Regions from separate parts of the Homo sapiens genome. Here regions 1, 2 and 4 are each linked to region 3. Evidence: promoter capture Hi-C in human tissues and cell types (Jung and others, 2019). All regions are on one chromosome and are shown on one strand. The core of a region is centred on a gene start or on the middle of the fragment in contact, and the rest is flanking DNA. Distances in the headings are between cores, read along the strand shown. Region 1 overlaps EEF1AKMT1 (EEF1A lysine methyltransferase 1). Region 2 holds the start of XPO4 (exportin 4). Region 3 holds the start of GJB6 (gap junction protein beta 6). Region 4 overlaps XPO4 (exportin 4).

What was found. The method cuts DNA at HindIII sites, captures the fragments that hold promoters and counts their contacts. A contact is called where the count stands out against the background at its distance.
Region 1: a contact is called between a fragment that was not itself captured here and the fragment with the promoter of GJB6 in region 3, in 2 of the 25 tissues and cell types used here (H1 embryonic stem cells and mesendoderm cells).
Region 2: the fragment with the promoter of XPO4 here is called in contact with the fragment with the promoter of GJB6 in region 3 in 2 of the 25 tissues and cell types used here (IMR-90 fibroblasts and mesenchymal stem cells).
Region 4: a fragment that was not itself captured here is called in contact with the fragment with the promoter of GJB6 in region 3 in 3 of the 25 tissues and cell types used here (hippocampus, mesendoderm cells and thymus).

Annotation. Positions count from the first base shown.
Region 1 is chr13:20,760,326-20,763,484 of GRCh38, forward strand. All of the region lies in intron 1 of EEF1AKMT1 (EEF1A lysine methyltransferase 1), which reads right to left. Among named protein-coding and RNA genes, the nearest start is that of EEF1AKMT1, 12 kb to the right of the region's middle. The HindIII fragment of the contact is 7,304 bases long and covers 1-3,159 here.
Region 2 is chr13:20,901,117-20,904,378 of GRCh38, forward strand. XPO4 (exportin 4) reads right to left here and starts at 1,630. Exons shown (of 23, transcript NM_022459.5): 1 at 1,554-1,630. The coding sequence starts at 1,622. RefSeq lists an enhancer at 1,393-1,442 and a silencer at 1,653-2,032. The HindIII fragment of the contact is 40,685 bases long and covers 1-3,262 here.
Region 3 is chr13:20,230,753-20,234,026 of GRCh38, forward strand. GJB6 (gap junction protein beta 6) reads right to left here and starts at 1,567. Exons shown (of 5, transcript NM_001110219.3): 1 at 1,442-1,567; 2 at 630-753; 3 at 1-55. The HindIII fragment of the contact is 5,298 bases long and covers 628-3,274 here.
Region 4 is chr13:20,816,928-20,819,914 of GRCh38, forward strand. The region is part of intron 9 of XPO4 (exportin 4); the gene reads right to left. Among named protein-coding and RNA genes, the nearest start is that of EEF1AKMT1, 44 kb to the left of the region's middle. The HindIII fragment of the contact is 5,973 bases long and covers 1-2,987 here.

The DNA.
Region 1 (3,159 bases), core at 623-3,122, 530 kb after region 3:
CTACATATACACCATGGAATAGTACACAGCCATAAAAAAGAGTGAAATCATGTCCTTTGCAGCAACATGGATGCAGCTAGAGGCTATTATCCTACGTGAATTAAAAGAGAAACAGAAAACCAAATACCACATGCTCTCACTTGTAGACGGGAGCTAAACAATGGGTACAGGTGGACATAAAGACAGAAATAATAGATACTAGGGACTCCAAGAGAGGAGCCGGGAAGAGTGGGGGAAGGATTGAAAAAAACTACCCTATCAGATATTATGTTCAATATTGGGTGATGGGTTCACTAGAAACCCAAACTCCAGTATCACCCAATATACCCTGCACATGTATGCCCTGAATCTAAAATTAAAAATAAAATATGTTTTAAAATTTAAAAATATACATACTCTAAAAAATTAAAAAGAATACACAGATAAAACATCAAAATAATGGACACACTTAATGCTGATGAGAAGGTAGTGATATTGGTATACTCTCTAATTTAGATAACAATTTAAATTGGCATAATCTTTTGGAAAAGAATCTGATAATTTGGACATAAATATTTCTATTTTTCTACACCAATTCTCATTCCTAAGCTTTCTACTCTGAAATAATCACAGATTCACAGGAATGTGCAAAAATAATGAAGGTCCATCCCATGTATCCTTCCACCTATTTTTCCACAATGGTAGTAACTTATATAACTACAGTGCATTGTCAAACCAGGAAATGAACAGTACAATCCACAGAGCTCGTGCAGTTCACCAGTTTTACACACATTTATTTGCAGGCGTATGCACATGTGTATAGTTTTATATAATGATATCACGTGTAGATTCATGAAAACACTTCCATGGATAAGAGACAGAATATTCCAGCACCAAAGAGATGAGTTGTACTACCTTTTTAAAGTCATTCCCATCCTCTCCCACCTCAATCTCCATTCTTAACCCCTGGAAAGCATTTGTTCTCCGTTTCAATAATTTTGTCACTTTAGATAAATGGAATCATACATTATATAACTTGAGATTGTCATTTTCACTCAGCATGGTTTAAAATTTACCCAGGTTGTTCTGTGTATCAATAGTTTATTCCTTTTTATTGCTGAGTAGTAATCCATAGTATGGCCACACTTAACCATTCACCCACTAAAACATTTGGGTTGTTTCCAATTTTAAGGTATTACAAATAGAGCTGTTGTGAACATTCCTGTAAAATGTATAGGAATTTTCATTTTCATTTCTCTGGATAAATGCTCAAGAGTATGATGTTGGATTTTATGGTTAGAGTGTGTTTATTTTGAGGACATCAAAAAATTTATTTCATGATGATACATTATAAGAGGGTTTCATCAAATGAAGAACTGAATCCCTGTACTATGAGGTTTACTGTGGCCAGAGAAGTCAGGATTCTCTTTGCAGTCATGTAGTTGTTTTTGAAATGCCTATTGAAGTGAAATGTGCAAATTTTAAAACATTTGTATTGAGATCTAATTCATATACCATACAATTCATCTATTTAAAGTGTATAATTCAGGTGGAATGTGGGAGGCTGAGACAGGAGGATCACTTGAGCCTAGGAGCAGCCTGGGCAATACAGTGAGACCTTGTCTCTACAAAAATGTTTTTAAAAATTAGCTGAGTGTGATGGCATGTGCCTGTAGACCCAGCTACATGGGAGGCTGTGGTGGGAGGATCACTTGAGTCTGGAGGCATAGGATGCAGTGAGCCAAGATCATACCACTGTATTTCAGCCTGGGTAACAGAACGAGAACCTTTATTTTTCGGGGTCTTCCAATCCATAAAACATGGCACATCTCTCCATTTATTTAGTTCATCTTTGATGTATTTCATCAGTCTTTTTTTTTTTTTTTTTTTTAATTTGAGGCAGAGTCTTGCTCTGTTGCCCAGGCTGGAGTGCAGTGGTGCATTCTTGGCTCACTGCAACCTCCACCTCCTGGGTTCAAGCGATTCTCCCTGCTTCAGCAGCATCCCCAGTAGCTGGGATTACAGGCACCTGCCACCACGCCCAGCTAAATTTTTTTGCATTTTTAGTAGAGATGGGGTTTCACATGTTGGCCAGGCTAGTTTCGAACTCCTAACCTCAAGTGATCCGCCCACCTCGGCCTCCCAAAGTGCTGGGATTACAGGCATGAACCATCGTGCCTGGCCAGGACTTCTAGTGAGCTGAATAGGAGTGATAAGAGCAGATATCCTACACTTGTCCCAGATTTTAAGTGGGAAAGCATTCAATCTTTCACCATTAAATATGATGCAGCCACAACCTTCTGGGCTCAAGTGATCTTTCCACCTCAGCCTCCCAAGCAGCTGGGACTACAGGCATGCGCCACCATGCCCGGCTAACATTTTTATTTTTTGTAGAGATGGGGTCCCACTCTGGTGCCCAGGCTGGTCTCAAACTCCTGAGCTCAAGTGTTCCTCCTGCCTCAGCCTCCGAAAGTGCTGGGATTACAGGTGTGAGTCACTACACCCAGGGTGTAGATGTTCTATGTTAAGATGAGGACATTCCCTTTATTAGTAGTTTGCCAAGTTTCATCATGAATGGGTGTTGAATTTTCAAATAACTTTTTGATATCAACTTATACGATCATGTGATTTTTCTTTAACCTCATGATATAAATTAAACTGATTATCTATTAAACCAGTCTCACATTCCTGGAATAGGTTCCACTTAACTGATTCTTCTTATGTATTGCTAAATCATATTTACTAATATTTTGCTGAGGATTTCGTCACCTATCTTCATGAGGTATATTTGTCTATTGTTTTCGGTCTTTGTATTGTCTTTGGTTTTGGTAACAAGGTAATATTGGTCTCATCAAATAAACTAGAAATGTCTCCTCTTCTATTTTCTGGAAAAGACTGTGTACAATCAGTGCTAACGCAATAAACATTTGGTAATTTTTTTCAGTGAAATCATGTGCTATGGATTCAATTGACACACCACCCCCCTCCCACCCTGCACCCCATTTATATGTTAAAGCCTTAACCCTCATTGTAATTATATCTGGAGATGCTAGGTTGGTGCAAAGGTAATTGCTGTTTCTGCCATTACTTTTAGCCACCCAGTCTACGGTATTTTGTTATAGCATCCCTAGCATTTAAGGCCCGAAATTTTTGTTTTTTTTTTTTGAAACAGAATTTTGC
Region 2 (3,262 bases), core at 380-2,879, 670 kb after region 3:
TCAACCTTGTAAAGCAAAGCTGTTGCAAGAATTAATAAAATATGTAAAGTATGTAAAGCATCAAGCCCAATATCTAGCACTCAATAAACGGTACTTACTACTATTCTTCTCACCTACTCCTTATAGGGGATAAAAGCAGCTTTGCCAGGGAAGAGGGAAGATATTGGAAAACACAAATACTAGTTTATATTAAGCCAGTGACGAAGGACACTGATTTTACCTGATCAGTGTAAGAACTACAGCCGTGTTTTGGGTGGCATACTCCTTCCAGAATCCAATGAAAACGGAGCCCCTAGCTCCTAGGAAAATTTCAGGAATTTTACAAAACGCTCTATGTCAGGGATTTTTAAGAATCTTTTATTAAGGGGAATACTAGCTAGTTACTTCTGCTTAATTTGCAAAAGTGTGAAAACCTTCACTAGTCTGTTTTGTGACAAAACGTACATTAAGTTAATATTCATAATGAAGCAAGTAAATCCTGCTTTTATTAGACTTCTCGATTTCTAAAGAAACAAAAATATCTGGTGTAAAATATTAGAACTACAAACTACGCTAGAATTAGTTCGAATATTCTCAAATGTGATGCTCAAACACCCTAACACCAAACCAAAAGGAAAAAAGTCCAAAAAGGTAACAAAGCTGGCTGTATCCAATTCTTAGAAAGTCTGAATCAATCCAGGTATCAAATGAACCTCTAACTTCCCAAAACATCTACAAACACCGAAGTCATAATTTGCAAAAACAAAGCTGAGCCAGCAAATAGAAACACTGTTTACTAACTGAACGTAGTTTATCCTTACTTCTCCTCCTTGCATGTAATACTTTTATCCTTTGACTCGGCCTTCTCAAATTCCCTTAGTAAACAATCTCATCAAACTGCTTATTGTAGTGTAAGCATGAAGTCAAAGAGTAGCATAGACTCAGTTCTCCAAATCGCGGGAGCTTTAAGGAGCTTAGCACTAGACCAAGTTTTGCCCCAATGACCTTGGTCTCAACGATTCCCCTCCCTCCCTCCAGCCGGCCCGGCCCTTCCACGTGCTGCCGGCTGCAATTACTCCAGAGGTGGCTGCATGTCAGGGAAGCGCTAGAGGATGCGAATGCACAGGAAACAAGGGTTGCTAACAGCACCCAGGCTGTGCCATCCAATCCCTCCCGACACCAACTCCCCAAGAGCGCTCACACAGCCCTACAAATTTCCCCTACCGAAGCCCTGCGGGGATAACCCCAACTCCTTCCCGGCGCCTTGCTCTGCGACCCAGTCTGTGGGGCAGGGTGTAAGGTGAAGAAATTCTCTTTGCTACACCACTATATTCCCACGCCCGACTGGGGTGCTGGGCAGCCAGGGGAAGGGGACAGCTCCTGGAAGGAGGGGACGACGGCAGGAGGAAAGTAGGCTGAAGAATCCTGCGCCACGCCACCGCCACCTCCTCCTCCACTTCCAGGCTCCCTGCAGGCCCTTGCCAGTCGCCAGCCCAGCGAGCAGCAAGGCCTGGAGTGGCAGGGCCGACCGGGGGCCCGCGAATCCCGGGGTCTGAGGGGCGCGGCGTCCTCACCATCAGAACTTTAGCCGCGTTCTCCAGCTGAGCGATCACTTCTGGGGGCCCCAGCGCCGCCGCCATCATGGTCTCTCTTCAATGACGCGCCATGCGCTGCATTCTGGGAGCGGGCGCCGCGGCCGGCCAATCGCCGCCGCGACCCCGGAGCCTCACGCGCTCCCAGGGCCGTCGCAGCCGCTGTCGACACCGGCGTCGCGGCCTCGGCGGGTCTGGCCGGGCTGCCGGGTTCCGGGTGGCTGGGAGGGGACTAGTGTGAGCCCGGCCGCCGCGCTGGGGCGGGGGCGGCCGCAGCCGGCACCGGGCGAGGCCGAGGCGGTCTGCCCAGACTGCTGCAGCCGCGCGCCCCGCTAAGCTCCCAGCCCCGCGCATGCGTGGTGTCCGGCGCCCCGGCCTCGCGGTGCCCCCGGCCCTCTCCCCACTACCCTAGTACAGCCCGCCCGGGGACCCGCAGATCCACGACGCCAGTTCGCTCCCTCCGTTCTCAGCCCTGCACACCGCCTCCCCTGGCTCCTCCTTGCCCTTCCACGCTCCAGCGCCGTGCAGGATTTCCTAAACTTGGAATCGCTCTTCCCGCTTTCCCCTCCTCAGAGCGCACCTCCTTTCAAAGTATCTCTGTCTCCTGCTTCTCTGTTCCTTCTTGCCATGGGAGAACATTCCAGGATAGAACGCTTCGTTTTCTTTCTTTCTTTTTTTTTTTTTTTGGAGACAGGGTCTCACTCTATCGCCCAGGATGGAGTGCAATGGCCCTATTTCGGCTCACTGCAACCTCCGTCTCCCGGGTTCAAGCGATTCCCCTGCCTCAGCCTCCTGAGTATCTGGGATTACAGGCGCCCGCCACCACGCCCGGCTAATTTTTGTACTTTTAGTAGAGACGAAGTTTCACCATGTTGGCCAGGCTGGTCTCGAACTCCTGACCTCAGGTGATCCGCCCGCCTCGGTCTCCCAAAGTTCTGGGATTACAGGCGTGAGCCACCGCCCCCGGCCGAACGCTTCGTTTTCATAATGGAGGGCTTTGGCCTTCTGCAGGACAATCATCCAAATGTATCTGGGCAGCGGGTCGCTAGGAGACCCTAGGAGGAAAACCCGTCTTTGGCTCTTGCCGTTTTCACTCTTTAAGGGCTGGCTCACATAGGAGAGGGAGAAAGCAGGGACAGGAAAGCCTGACCTTGACTACCTGGCTTCTCAAATGCAGTAAGATGAGCTTTGTCGGCCAGGCGCTGTGGCTCATGCCTGTAATCCCAGCACTTTGGGAGGCCAAGGCAGGCCTCATTTTAGCTCAGGAGTTCGAGACCAGCCTGGGCAACATCGTGAGACCCTGTCTCTACCAAAAAAAAAAAAAAAAAAAGCCCGGTGTGGTGTCTTGCGCCTGTGGTCCGAGCTTCTCGGGAGGCTGAAGCGGAAGGATTGCCCAGGAGGTCGAGAGTGCAGTGGGGCGAGATCACACCACGGCACTCCAGCCTGGGTGAGAGGCTGATCCTGTCTCAGGAAAAAAAAAAAAAAGGACAAAAATCAGCATTGTCGTGTTTGTGGAATCCGTGTTGAAAGGCATATTAGAGTATCAAGTAATTAACCTTCCCTCCGGTGCTCCAGTTGCCTCTAGGACATTCCACGCAAGTGGTCCTGACAGCTGTTTCAGTATTCAAACCAGTGCTGTTAGGTTGTTCGGATCAGGGGTTTGTTTCGTTTTGAGCTGACATCTACGGTCT
Region 3 (3,274 bases), core at 317-2,816:
TTTCTTTCGCCATACAGAAATTGTTTAGCCAGATCTTCTGTACTTCTTTTCCTTCCTAACACTCAGAATTCAGAAGAGAAGACATAAGAAAAAAAGCATAAAGTCATCATTACCTGTATCAGAATTTGTTTAAAAAACAACCAGTGGGGCAGGTGAACTGACCAGCGTCTTCCCAGCTTTAGTCACTGCAGTGGCAATGAGGCGCTCTCCACACCCCCAGTTATGTGACAGGCTAGAGCCCTGGTGTTCTCTCTTCAGAACCCCCCTCTCCTCCTTGGCAAGCTTCAAGCAACACCCCCAAAGACGCTGCTGGATCCAAACAACAGACAAAGCTCTCCACAGGAGCAGTTCTGAGCAGCACCCTGCAATTCTAAGGAGACTGCATGGGGGCAGGACATTTTCTTCTAGAACACTGGTTAGATTCTGCTAGAACTGGGGCAAGAAAATAGCTGTATGGCATAAAGTCTACTTGAGGGAAAAGAACAACCCGGCACGGTTACGTTCAATCAGACACTAAACAGAGTGCACGCCCACCCAGGGGACACTGAGGTCGCTGGGCCAGTGTCCCCGCCTGGTTGCAGGTCCCTAACCCCTCCGGGAGTGCAGAGCTGCGGGCAGGCCACACTCACCCTGACCCTTCCTGCTCCCCAGGAAGGGAGGTCAGCCCCGTTTGCAAAACACAGGATGCCCGTGACACCGGAGACAGGTCTTCTTCACCGACAGGAAGTGCCTTCTGGTGCCTGCACGTTTTAACTAAGATGTGTCGCCAATTACTTTTAATTACTGTCGTCCACGCTATTGTCATCAGCATTTCACAAGTTTCTCGGAAGCCCATCACGCAGCCCATACCCTGCGGTTCTCCGGGGACTTATGCATCGGCCCAAGTTGAGGGTTTGTCTGAACTGAAACCCGCATCCTAGACCTGGCTTTCTTCTCCCCAAATCCAAGGGGACACCCCGGTGACCCACAAAAGCTTAGAAAATCCAACACGCAGCAAATGAAACGGGGGAAAGGGGCACCGGCCCTCACTCTGGCCTCTTAGACACACGATATGAAACCTTCATAAAACCTGTTGTACAAGTCAAAGGGGACCACGCTGGGGTAAAAGTCAAACCAGTCCATCCTCGTTCCTCTGCGTACAGAGAGAGGGTCCAGCGCGGGCGGCGCCCACTGCCATCGGGCCGGGGCCGGGGCGCGTGGACAGGAGGGTGCGGATAGAGGCAGATCGGGGGCCCGGTCGCCCCACGTGCGGCCAGACACCCATCCCGGCCGCGCTCTGCCGGCTCTGATCCGGTGCCAGACAGGAGCGACAGGGGCGAGGTGGGGACCAGCCGCCGACCTCACCTGTTTTGTTTTCTTGGAGGAAATTCCTCCGCTGGGGGGCCGAGGTGGCACCGCCCGCTCGCCCCCCGCAAGACCCAGCCGGTCCGCGCCCGCTTACCTGCTCTGCGGCCGGCGGCCCTGGCGCGGGCTCTGCGCGGGGCGGCGCCCTTCGCTCCGGCTGGGCAGGCAGGTCGGGCTCGGGCGCCGCCGGCTGTCGGGCTCTCGTCGGGTTTCGGGTGAAGGCCCCGGCTCCCACCTGCTGCGCCTTTTAACCGCGCCCCACCCCGCCTCTGCCCTGACGCGGCTCGGGCGGGCTGCGGGAGGCGAGCGCTGTCACTCGACGAGCCCCCCGCCCCCACCTACCCGGGGCGCACTAGCCGCTGGGCGCGGACCGTCCCCCTGAGGAGCAAGGAGTGCAGGACCGGGGCTGTCCCTCCGGGGCCGGATGCGCAGAGCGGGGACCTTTTTCCCGTGGCGGGGGCGCAGGGTGGGGGACCCCTAAGAAGTGCACAGTGCGCGGGGCCCTCTTTCCGGCCCTTGGAGGGAACGGGGTACCGGGGATGCAGGGGGTAGGGCTCTCCCTCGGGAGCGCAGAGGGCGGGCCCAGCCCCCTCTGCACGGGTGCAGGTGTGGGGCGCCTGCTCAGGCCCTCGAGGGAACTCTTCCTCCCTAGTGCACCCGTGGGGAGCAGTGTGAGGGGCAGGCTGTGTTTTTGCCAGGACACATCCTCAGTCTTTCTGGGTGATCCAGCCTTCTCATAGCCCGCGGGGTGCACAGACCTCTCCTATAGGAGCCTGGAGGTTCTTTATTAATTAATGACCACTTAGAGGAGGTACAGGGGTTGTTTTTATTAATTACCTCCATCCTTTGAAGACTCCTCCGGGGAAGCGGAGCAGGCCTTCCTCGGGACAGTGCACCAGGAGAGACCACATTGCCTCCCCGCTTTTCAGTCAAGACTAGAAAGCTCAGGGCCAGTACAGGGAGTGGTGCAAGGGCTGGTGGGGTGGAAACGTTGGAAGCTATTTAGGCACCTGGCTTTACAGGTTCAAACCTGTCACGCATCGGACAAAAGATGTGTGACTTGCTTATTCTACAAAACTGTTCGGTAATTAAACGTCCCCACCTAAACCATATGCCACTTGTTGGGTCATATTCTCCCACGAAACAATTAAGATGTCTGTTAAAGGTCATGGAATTTGAGCCAAGACTTCATAAAAATCCGCTTTCCAAAATATTTTATTTGAGGAGAACAAGGTTCTTAAAGAATTTGCCCAAGTCAAGTTTTAAAAACTTTGGGGAGGCCCCTGAAATGGCCTTGAACTTGGAGAGTGGAGAGACACAGAAATCTCTAGGCTTTTTAAATTTATTTATTTATTTATTTATTTATTTATTTATTTATTTATTTTGACTAAGTCTGGCTCTGTTGCCCAGGCTGGAGTGTGGTGGTGTGATCTCAGCTCATTGCAACCTCTGCCTCCCGGGTTCAAGTGATTCTCCTGCCTCAGCTTCCCGAGTCGCTGGGATTACAGGCCCGCACCACCATGCCTGGCTAGGTTTTGTATTTTTAGTAGAGCTGGGTTTCACCATGTTGGCCAGGCTGGTCTGGAGCTCCTGACCTCAGGTGATCCACCTGCCTCAGCCTCCCAAAGTGCTGGGATTACAGGCGTGAGCCACCGCGCCGAGCATCTCTAGGCTTTTTTGTTAGACATCCTCACACTGCCCAGATGTGCCCTATGCGGTAAATCTTGGGTGCTCTGTCCTGCCCCACACAATCTAACTGTGGACTTCCCAGTCTTCTCTCCATTCCTCTCCCAAACAGATGCTTCAGCCAGGCTCAGCTGTTTGCATAGTAAAATAATTTTTCTAAGCAGATTGTAAACTTCTTTGGGGATTATAAACAGTTTAAGCTTTTCTTCCTCTTCTTCTTCTTTTGCATTTCTACAATACTAAG
Region 4 (2,987 bases), core at 121-2,620, 590 kb after region 3:
TTAAAAAATACTCATGGATTTAATTCTATCTTTTAAGCAGAGGAAATGAATGTGCTTGATGGGTGGGGGGCGCTGGACAGCCAGCTTGCTCTCTCCAGTATCATCAGTTTATTCTTTTATAGCTACAAGAACCGTTTGGTGGGGATGTTGGCAAGGATCTTCAAACAATCCATCCTTTCATGGGTGAAGGTGCAAGGTAGACTACACAGTTACACTGTACGGACACAACCATCCAGAGAATAAGTATTGTTTTCCCTCTTATCACTGAGATATCCCAAAATTTATGCTCCCCACTTCTCAATCTGTAATTTGGCTTCAATTTATGGCTTCCTTTTTGTCACATAACCTCACTACAAAGTAATTACCCAACAAGCCAGAGAAATTAAATTCTGAATCAAGAATGCTGACCTCTAAATACACTCACTCACTTGACAAATTGCAAATTTATTTTATTGCATTACATTCTATAATCAACTTCCTAAAAACTTTATCAAGTACCTTTTTCTTTACTACCTTGTCCTGCTGGTCTTGAGATTAGGCTACAAATATACTAAAACTAGATGTAAGGTTCTTCCTTTATAAATTGTTATTTACCACGATTGCCCTTATACACAACACATACATCAAAATGCATATACAAAATACCTCAATGCTATGAAGGCTGCTCTGTTCCTGTAGCAACATACTGCACAGCTTCACCTACTTGGCTGAACTCAAAATGGTTAATTATAAAAGAAACCAAGAAACAAACTAGAGTATACAGTTCTAGTCATATTCTCCTTGAATTTCACTGAAACAATTCAAATGCATCTACTATTATAAATCTTTTATAAAACAGCTGTTGTATTAATATGAACAATTATTGATAGAATTTTAATCTTTTTTTGAGACAAAGCCTTGCTGTATTACCCAGGCTGGAGTGCAGTGGCATGATCTCAGCTCACTGCAACCTCTGCCTCCCGGGTTCAAGTAATTCTCCTGTCTCAGCCTCCTCAGTAGCTGGGATTACAGGAGTGTGCCACCATGCCTGGCTAATTTTTGTATTTTTAGTAGAGACGGAGCTTCGATGTGTTGGCCAGGCTGGTCTCCTCACCCGACCTCAGGTGATCTGCCTACCTCAGCTTCCCAAGGTACGGCCGTGAGCCACCAAGCCCAGCAGGATTTTAATCTTTAAGGCAATACTTTTTCATCTCCACATTCATTCTTACCTCTTCAGTTCAGCAATAGATAATAATTTGATTTCTGGGTATAATGAAAAAATTCTTATCTCCAAAAAGTCTCAAATAATATCAAGAAACTTCTGCAGCCACAGAGAAACTTGGCTGAATACCAGAATTGCTCTTTGTGAACACAGACTCTCAGTTAACTGCAAGTCAGAGTACTCATAAATATGTCTCTTCACTCACATGCTAAAGCCACCCAGCAAGGTGGCTTTATGACATGGGTTTCAAAAACACACACTGGTATCAAGAATGCTTCTTCCTATGAAGATGCTCTTCTTCCCTTGCTACACAACGTTACCACCATCAAAGACATGAATTGCTATTAAAAAAGATGATAATCTGTATATATTCCTAAACAAACACAGCTCTGAAAAAAGTATTCTCACAGTAAAACAAAGTCTTACATGTGGAACCTGTTTTCCTACTGGAAAAAGAAGCTTTCAATATTTCACAAAATTACAATTATAAAAATCATTTAAAAAATAATTTTAAAAAATTAGAATTATAATTAGTTTGCACCAAACAAAACTCAACAGTTGTTCTTATGTGGTAAGAGTGCACACAGGTTTTCAATAAAAGCTATTATTTTAAAGGCTCATTTTAAAAAATTATTCTACATGTTATTGCTTGTAATAAATTATTGTACACTATACACGTCCCCCTCCCCCTCCCCTTTGTTTTTTTGTTGAGATGGAGTTTCGTTCTTGTCACCCAGGCTGGAGTGCAGTGGTGTGATCTTGGGTCACTGCAACCTCCGCCTCTCGGGTTCAAGAGATCCTCCTGCTTCAGCCTCCCAAGTAGCTGGGATTACAGGCGCCCGCCACCATGCCCGGCTAATTTTTTATATTTTTAAGTAGAGAAGGGGTTTTGCCATGTTTGGCAGGCTGGTCTCGAACTCCTGACCTCAGGCAATCCGCCTGCCTCAGTCTCCCAAAGTACTGGGATTACAGGCGTGAGCCACTGAGCCCGGCCTATACAGGTACTTTTCATGCAGTTAATCCACGTCATAAAGCAGTAGAAGGAATTCATACCCTGACTTTACCAATAAGCTAACATGCTCCAAAAAAAAGTGAAGCAGCTTGCTTGAACTCTTGCTCTTCATGACTGCCTGGCCTGTAACTGTGCAGTCTCCCTCAAAAGTTCATCATCTTTTCATCCCATGTTAACTCCCAAACTCATATCTTTAATATGCCTCAATTTTTCAAATTTTACTTAAAAGATCATGTCTTGGCCAGGCGCGGTGGCTCACACCTGTAATCCTAGCACTTTGGGAGGCTGGGGTGGGTGGACTGCGAGGTCAGGAGTTTGAGACCAGCCTGGCCAACATGGTGAAACCCCGTCTCTACTAAAAATACAAAAATTAGCCGGGCGTGATGGCGCATGCCTGTAATCCCAGCTACTCGGGAGGCTGATGCAGAAGAATCGCTTGAACCTGTGAGGCAGAGGTTGCAGTGAGCCAAGACCGTGCCATCGCAGTCCAGCCTGGGCGACAGAGCGAGACTCCATCTCAAAAAAAAAAAGATCATGTCTTTATATACTTTTCCATCTCAGGACAACTACGTATTATGTACTATTACTACAATTACTGGGTGCCCAAGAAAACAAAAGATGAAATGGTTTCTGTCCCAGAGGTCCAATTTGGTTTGGCTGGATTTGTTCCTATATTTCTGGTATTAGCTGTATACTCCCCTGGTCCTCTACTCCCAGCATACAGAAGATACAACGGAAACCGCTTGAGGTTGAGATGACATTTAGGAGGTTTAC